Regions from separate parts of the Homo sapiens genome. Here region 2 is linked to region 1. Evidence: promoter capture Hi-C in human tissues and cell types (Jung and others, 2019). All regions are on one chromosome and are shown on one strand. Each heading gives the region's core, a stretch centred on a gene start or on the middle of the fragment in contact. The rest is flanking DNA. Distances are from core to core; before and after follow the strand shown. Region 1 holds the start of QRFP (pyroglutamylated RFamide peptide). Region 2 has its middle 29 kb from the start of FIBCD1-AS1.

Region 1 (4,198 bases), core at 1,699-4,198:
GTGACAGGCTGCACACGTGGCCAAGCGCAACTCACCAAAATGTTTCCCCGGGACAGGCTGGCAGCGTAGATGTGAGCAGGGGGCTCAGCTGAGCCCGGCTTCCGAGCAGTGCTGGGACTAGGCCACTGTTTTATTAGCAGGATCAGGAGGTGATTGTGCCAGTTAGGCCGGTTCTTCTCCTGCAGTCCCCACGATCTGCGTGCCTGGGCAGCTTAGCACCGTAAATCCACCGCTGCTGGCTGGCAGAGCAGTGCCCAGGCGGCCCCGGGAGAGTCAGCAAATGTATGCTCATTTTTCTCTTATTATAAAATGGCCATATCATTGCAGAGCCATGGGGTGGAAAGTTAAAAGCATCAATCTCCCTTAGTGTTCAACTGGATAATAAATGGGTCTAGCTATGCTGTTTAGCTGGGACATCCTGCTAATGTCTCTTTCACGTGGGAACGAGTTGCTCCTGAAAGCCAGAAACAGATTGGATGGTCCTGGCCTAATTCGGACACCCACCTGGGAAGGAGTGTGTGGACACCACTGGGGCCTGGGCACCGTAGGTCTGCCAGGCTCTGAGCCAAGAGCTCACACATGTGATTGTACTTCATCTTCATAGTACTCCTGCTTGGTAGGTCCGGCCAGTCCCACTTTTTCAGGCAACAAAACTGTCAGAAAAACTGAGATTGTGCCCAGGCCACACAGCCAGAAAGTGGAGGCTCTGGATTCATGATTCTAATGGCCAGACGGCTTCTTCAAGAAGCATACATATCTGCTAGGTACTCCCAACCCTCCTATTTCACAGGGGTGGTGTCGGTCTCAAACAGCTGAGGTGACTTGCCCCAGATCTCATGGCCTTATCAGTGCCAGAGCTAGAGTTCAATCCCAGGTCTAACTGGGCTTGACTCAGGAAGGCGTGCCCTAACTCCCTCCTCTGTACTCCACATGGCACTCGGGGGATCTGAAACCCAGCCTCCTGTAATGAACCTGCCTTGGTAACACTTGCTCCCTTGTCTGGCAAAGAAAACCTTTTTGACAATGACCGCGGGGGAGCTGGAGCTGGCTTGTCCTCCGCAGAGTCAAACTGAGGCTAGACTAGAGAGCACCGGCCCTGGAGAAGACAGTACAGGAGTCCCCAGAGCCCTTTCCAGAAATGGCTCCCTCGAACACATTTCAAAGAAGCGAGCTCAGCCAGGAAGCTTTTAAAAAAATAATACATGCAACCCCACTTTCTACCCAAATCCAGTTCTTCTAAGCTTTCGTCCCCCAGGGATGGAGTGACCTCCCTCATGCTGCCAGGAAAACCTTTCCATCAGGGCGCAGGCAGAGTGGGGGCTTCCACGAGGTGACTTTCTGCAGCGGCCCAGCCCATTCCCTCCTCCCCATAGGAAGCACTTTGCTGACTGCGATGTGGACCAGGGACCGTTGCATCCTGGTGGATAAATCCACCCGGGAGTGGCCTCTGGGTGTCTAGAAAGGAGACAGCCTGACAGAGCAGGCCCTGGAGTGGCCCTTCACCCCTTTTAGGGGTTCATGCACCCCTTCAAGAATCTGGTAGAAAGTGGGGATGCTCATCACGGGACAGGCGGCCCCAGCGCGAGTCAGGGCTTCAGGCCCCACAGCCAGGAAGGGACAGGAAAAGCACGGGTGAGGCTGGGTCCCAGCCCTGGCAGGGCAGCCGTGACCAATCTGTGCTGCTCTGGGCTGTTGGCAGGGGAGGCACTGGTGTCCCCTCTCCGGGCACTCCCTCCCTGTGCTTCTGTGTGCCCTCTGACTGCCCATGCCTGGCTCCTGCCTGGGCAGGGCCTGAGCTGGGGTTCCTGCTGGGGACAGGGCAGCTATGCTCACCGTGTGGCTGGGACTGCTCCCAGGAAGGCTGGCTGGTGGATCGCTGGGCTCCGGGGCTGGGCTGGGCAGAGCTGCTCTGGGTCCTCGTCCAGGAGGCATGGCCCCTGGGCTCTCCCTGCTTTATATGGCCCGCGGTGCGCTTGCTGCTCTGCCGACTGCCTGCTGCGCATTCCTGACCCTGGGATTCCATTGGGGACGCTGTTGTTGAAGAGGGGCAGTGCTGACCGCGTTGATAAAAACAACCTCACACAGGATGTAGTCTGATGAGAGGGCAGGCGGGCTGCCCTTTGGAGGAGAGCAGACAGCATCATTAACTGCAAATTGCGGGCACAGACCCTCGAGTCCCTTGGCGGGGGTTCCAAGCCCACCCTTCACCCTAAGGGTCCTGCCTTTGCTGGGTTGGCACCTCACGCTCCGGAGAGGACATGGGGTGGGTGGACATCTACCCGACACACCTACTGCCCAGCTTGCAGGATGGCTTTCATGGGCAGGAAAGCCACAGACACCCATGAGGCCCGTGTTTCACAGGCACCGGGCTGCGCGGCTAAGCCAGGTGCACCTCCCCGGCAGGTGGAGCCCTCAGCGGCCTGTTACCCAGGAACCAACCAAGGGGGCACGGCAGATGCCCAGGACAGCAGTGGAGCATTTGCCTGTGGCCCCCAGCCCCTCCCACCGCATACCCTGGGTGGCCCCCTACTGTCACCGAGGGTCACCTCTGGGAGGCCAGCAGGAGGACCCAGCCTCTGCTCCTTGCCCGGCAGAGATTCTCCCTCCACTGAGAGCAGGCAGGGGGGTGATGAGGCAGCCCCACCCCACCACTGTCAGGAACTGAGCACAGAGGGCCTCCCCCATTCCAGGGGCCCTCACCCAGCCGACCTACCCCTGCATCCCGGCTGCTGGGGGATCAGAAGTCATGGGAATAGAGAGCCTGTGGACACTTCCCCAGAGACCTGAGGAAGGCACTGGAATCTCGATCCTCCACTTCGGGGCTGAGCGCCCAGGTTCGGGCGGAGGGTCTGCGGATTGAAGCCGATGACTGAGCTTTGCTGGCCAGAACCAGCTTCCATCCCCCAGGCCAGGGCTGCCTCCGATGGCCTGAGGTGCCCCTGTCCTGTGTGTGCATGTGTGTGTATGCCCCCACATGAGTATGTGCACACGTGCGTACACGTGTGTGTGCTCGTGAGACGGGAGGTGTGGTGTCCTTCTGTCTCCCTGGTTAGTGCTGGTTGATTCTGACAGCGGGCACCAGTTATCCATGGGGTGCCGCCCAGGGTGGGTCTCTACCGTGCTATGAGCCTGGACCGGATGCCTGCCCTCTGGGTGCCTCAGTGCTCCCTTGGTGTAAAGCGAGGTTCAAGTTCCCAAGCTGTGCTTTGCAGAATTCCTCAGGAATGGCCATGGAAGTTGGGGAAGGCAACATGGGGTCCAATCCCGCAGGCACCCCTCTCCTACAGGCACCCCACTCCCCTACAGGCTACCCCTCTGCCCTACAGGCACCCCTTTGCCCCACACGCACCCCTCTGCCCCACAGACACTCCTCTGCCCTACAGGCACCTCTCTGCCCCGCAGGCACCCCTGTGACCCACATGCACCCCTGTGCCCCGCAGGCACCCCTGTGCCCCGCACGCACCCCTGTGCCCTGCATGCACCCCTGTGCCCCGCACACACCCCTGTGCCCTGCACGCGCCCCTGTGCCCCTCAGGCCAAGCCCCACTTTGCTGTGTTTGACATGTTGAGCTCCCAGAAAAGGTTCTGCTTTGAAACCACCAGGGCCCGGAGTCCTTTTGCGGGACTGAGGTCTGTGGCTCTGAGAGGTGGTCACAGAATGTCCTGCATGTGAGGGGCTGGTCTGGGGTGGGAGCAATATTGGGGTGAGGATGAGGGGTCCCCACGTGGCCCACATGTTCCCCAGCCTCAGGTCCCCGCCTGCCCCCTTCAGACCGGGGTGCCTGGAGCCCAGTCAGGCGTTGGATTTGGTGCCAAACCTTCTGACTCCAGGGACTTGCCTGGTCCCCTCCACCCCTGGAACTCCTGGACGGAAAAATTGCTTTCAGATGCCCTTCCTGGGCCCCTGGAAGCATCTGGGTTCCCCCACCTCTTGAGCAATTGGGGGTGACAACTGTGCCACTGTTTGCCACCAGCAGCCGAGATAGGCAGGGTCTGGGCTGCCTGGATGCACAGGGTGGCCGGGGCTAGATCAGTCCAAGAGTGGCAGTACCCATCGGGGCGGCTTCCAGCGCTGGAGGCTTTTTCTGCTGTCGGGTAAATGCAGGGAGGCGAGGCGTGAGGGTGGTGGGGCTGGTGGTGCAGGAAGCCGCTCTGGGGGTGGAGTCCGTGGACCACCTCGAAGCCTGTGGGGTTCCCT
Region 2 (4,198 bases), core at 1,072-3,571, 73 kb after region 1:
ATGATCAAACTTGAATGTGAGGAGTTGCTTTTTATGGATGAGCAAAGACAGTTGTTTTTTGAGATGGAATCTAGGCCTGGTGAAGATGCTGTGAACATCGTTGAAATGACAACAAAGGATTTCGAATATTTCATAAATTTAGTTGATAAAGCAGCAGCGGGAAAAGGATCGACTCCAATTTTGAAAGACGTTCTACTGTGGATAAAATGCTATCAAACAGCATCATATGCTACAGAGAAGTCTTTTGTGAAAGGAAGCCTCAATCGATGCGGCAAACTTCACTGTTGTCTGATTTTAAGACATTGCCACAGCTACCCCAACCTTCAGTAACCACCACCCTGATCAGTCAGCAGTCACCAACATCAGGGCCAGACTTTCCACCGGAAAACCGATGGCGACTTGGTGAAAGTTCAGATGATCATTAGCACTTTTTAGCAATAAAATATTTTTAATTAGGGTATGTACATTTTTTAGACATAATGCTATTGCATACTTAGTAGATTACAGTGTCATGTAAGCTTGACTTTTTTTTTTTGTTTTTAGAGAGAGTCTTGCTCTGTCACACAGGCTGGAGTGTGGTGGTGCAATCTCAGCTCACTGCAACCTCCGCCTCCTGGGTTCAAGTGATTCTCCTGCCTCAGCTTCCTGAGTAGCTGGGATTACAGGCGTGCACCACCACGCCCAGCTAATTTTTGTATTTTTAGTAGAGACAGGGTTTCACCATGTTGGCCAGGCTTATCTCCAACTCCTGACCTCGTGATCCACCCATCTCGGCCTCCCAGAGTGCTGGAATTACAGGTGTGAGCCACTGCGCCTGGCCAAGCTTAACTTTTATATGCACTGAGAAACCAAAAATATTGTGTAACTCCCTTTATTGTGATATTTGCTTCATTGTAGTGGTCTGGAATGAAACCTGTAATATATCCAAGCTATGCCTGTATACGAATGATAATAGCTGCATTGTTCTCAATCACCAAAACATGGGAACAGCTCAGATGTCCATCAGTGGATGAACGAATAAAGAACATGTGGGTCTATCCATGCAATAGAATATTATTCAGCAATAAAAAGGAGTGAAGTATTGGCACCTACTACAACATGGAAGAACCTCAAAATCATGTTCAATGAAAGAAGCCAGACACAGGCCAGGCACGGTGGCTCACGCCTATAATCCCAGCACTTTGGGAGGCCGAGGCAGGCGAATCACGAGGTCAGGAGATCGAAACCATCCTGGCTAACACGGTGAAACCCCGTCTCTACTAAAAATACAAAAAATTAGCCGGGTGTGGTGGCGGGTGCCTGTAGTCCCAGCTACTCAGGAGGCTGAGGCAGGAGAATGGCGTGAACATGCGAGGTGGAGCTTGCCGTGAGCCGAGATCGCGCCACTGCACTCCAGCCTGGGGGACAGAGCGAGACTCCATCTCAAAACAAAACAAAAAAAAAGAGGTCAGAAGTTTGAGACCAGCCTGGCCAACATAATGAAACCCCATCTCTACTAAAAATACAAAAAATTAGCCAGGCATGGTAGCTAATGGTGGTGGCAGGTGCCTGTAATTCCAGCTACTCTGGAGGCTGAGGCAGGAGAATCGCTTGAACCTGGGAGGTGGAGGTTGCGGTGAGCCAAGATCGCACCGCTGCACTCCAGACTGGGCCACAAGAGTAAAACTCCATCTCAAAAAAAAAAAAAAAAAAAGAAGCCAGACACAAAAGGCCACATATGTATGGTCCCATTTCTATAAAATGTCAGGAATAGGCAAATCCACAGATGGAAAACAGATTAATAGTTTCCAGGGGCTGGAGGGAAAGGAGGGATGAAGCGTGACTGCTTAATTGGTTTGTGTTTGGGGTGATGAAAAAGTTCACACAGCACAACATGGTGAATGGTCTAAATGCTGCTGAACTGTGTACTTTAACATGATTAAAATGGGCCAGGCGCGGTGGCTCAGGCCTGTAATCCCAGCATTTTGGGAGGCTGAGGCGGGCGGACCACTTGAAGCCACAAGTTTGACACCAGCCTGGCCACATGGCAAAAACCTGTCTCTACTAAAAACACAAAAAAATTAGCCAGGCCTGGTGGCGCATTCCTGTAGCTCCAGCTACTCGGGAGACTGAGGCCTGAGAATCGTTTGAACCCGGGAGGCAGAGGTTGCAGTGAGCGGAGATTGTGCCACTGCACTCCAGCCTGGGTGACAGAGCAAGACTCCCTCTCAAAAAAATAAAATAGGCTGGGCGAGGTGGCTCACGCCTATAATCCCAGCACTTTCGGAGGCCGAGGTGGGTGGATCATCTGAGGCCAGGAGTTCAAGACCAGCCCGGCCAACATGGTGAAACCCCGTCTATACTAATAATACAAAAAAAAATTAGCTGGGCATGGTGGCACATGCCTGTAATCCCAGCTACTCAGGAGGCTGAGGCAGGAGAATCGCTTGAACCCAGAAGGCAGAGGTTGCAGTGAGCCAAGATCGTGACATTGCACTCCAGTCTGGGTGACAAGAGTGAAACTCTGTCTCAAAAAAAAGGCTCTTCCTCCTGGTGGGGAGGTGAGGATGGAAAGGGATCTCGTGCGTGCCTGGCCACAGTGAGCACCTAGTAACTGCTGCCTGGTGGTGGTGGGAAGAACCACCAGCCAGGTTACCGTCCAGACAGGGTCCGATCTGCCTGGGCATGGCGGGGTGGGGTGGGGCACCTCGAGGCTCCGGGCCCAGCCCTGGCCACTCGAGTTGAGGTGCCTCAGCTCAGGAAGCTCATGCATCGCAGAGGCTGTGCGTGGTTTTTGAGCTTGGAGAAGGAGGCGAGAGACCTGGCAATCTGTGCGTGGGAGAACTCAGGACAGGCCTGTGAAGAACTGTGGAGGGAACAAGAGACACCTACATTTTAACATGGTGTTCATTTTGTTTCTTTTTCTTTTTTATTTTTTTGAGACAGGCTCTTGCTCTGTTAGCCAGGCTGGAGTGCAGTGGCTCACTGTAGCCTCAGCCTCCCAGGCTCAAACAATTCTCCAACCTCAACCTGCTGAGTAACTGGGACTACAGGCATGCACTACCACGCTCAGCTAATTTTTCTATTTTTGTAGAGATAGGGTTTCTTCATGTTGCCCAGACTTGTCTTGAACTCCTGGCCTCAACTGATCCACCTGCTTTGGCCTCCCAAAGCATAATTCCCTCATGCTGGGATTACAGGCATGAACCATTGCGCTTAGCTAAAAATTTTTTATTAATAATCTACTATAGCCAGACTCCATACTGGAGACAAAGAGAATCAGAGTTCTGCCCTACAGAGAAACAGAGACACACACAGAGACAGAGACACACGGGGAGACACACACCACAGGGAGAAAGAGAGCCCGGGCCCTGCCTCCCGACTGCAGAAACAGAGACATGCAGAGACACACACTGAGACAGAGAGAGGTGGAGACACATGTTCCAAAAGGAAGGGCAAAGAGAGAGAGAGGAAGGAAGGAAGGGAGGAAGGGCAGGAAAGAGGAAGAAAGGAAGGAGGGAAGGAGGGAGGGAGGAAGAAAGGAGGAAGGGAGGGAGGAGGCAGGAGGGAGGAGGGAGGAAGGGAGGGAGGAGAGAGGAAGGAATGGAGAAGGGAAGAAGGGAGGAGGGAGGGAGTGAAAGCCTTTCTGCCACTAGTGATGGGCATTGTCCATTCTTAAGAAAGCACCTGCCTGCTTTTGACTTTAAGAGGCATAGACTTGGGTGATAGAAATGCGTGTTCAAAGCTGAAAAAGCTGAAAAGGCCTGCACCCAAATCCCATCTTTGTGAGGGGCCGTTATATGAGCCCAGCCTGTTTTCTCATCTGGAAGTGGGAATTCTCGGAGCTTAACTCACTGATGGTCATTGGGTCACAGGATGGACCTGGCGTACGGGAAGTTTCCGGAAAGGACAGCTGCAGCCTGTGTGCCCCTCATGCTCCTAAGGGGCAAGAGGACCAAGCCGAGACCCCAGTGAGCTAGGGGAGGGGCCGGCCCCACAGCAGCTTCTCCAGCTTCCTGAGGAGGCTCAGACCCTCGGGCCCTCCCAGGCCCCTCTGCCCCCGCCCCACTGGTTCACAAGCAGAGACTTCCCCTCCTCCCCTGGTTCACTGACTTTCTCATTGTCTGGGAGGCCCCAGTGTCTCCACCTCTCTCTGTCTCAGTGTGTGTCTCTGCATGTCTCTGTTTCTGTAGTCGGGAGGCAGGGCCCGGCCTCTCTT

Evidence for each region. The method cuts DNA at HindIII sites, captures the fragments that hold promoters and counts their contacts. A contact is called where the count stands out against the background at its distance.
Region 2: a fragment that was not itself captured here is called in contact with the fragment with the promoter of QRFP in region 1 in 3 of the 25 tissues and cell types used here (H1 embryonic stem cells, IMR-90 fibroblasts and mesendoderm cells).

The regions. Positions count from the first base shown.
Region 1 is chr9:130,893,864-130,898,061 of GRCh38, forward strand. QRFP (pyroglutamylated RFamide peptide) reads right to left here and starts at 2,949. Exons shown (of 3, transcript NM_198180.3): 1 at 2,714-2,949; 2 at 1,834-2,118. RefSeq lists enhancers at 1-281, 1,070-1,757, 1,758-2,444. The HindIII fragment of the contact is 19,380 bases long and covers 1-3,971 here.
Region 2 is chr9:130,967,531-130,971,728 of GRCh38, forward strand. No RefSeq gene overlaps it. Among named protein-coding and RNA genes, the nearest start is that of FIBCD1-AS1, 29 kb to the left of the region's middle. The HindIII fragment of the contact is 5,841 bases long and covers 1-4,198 here.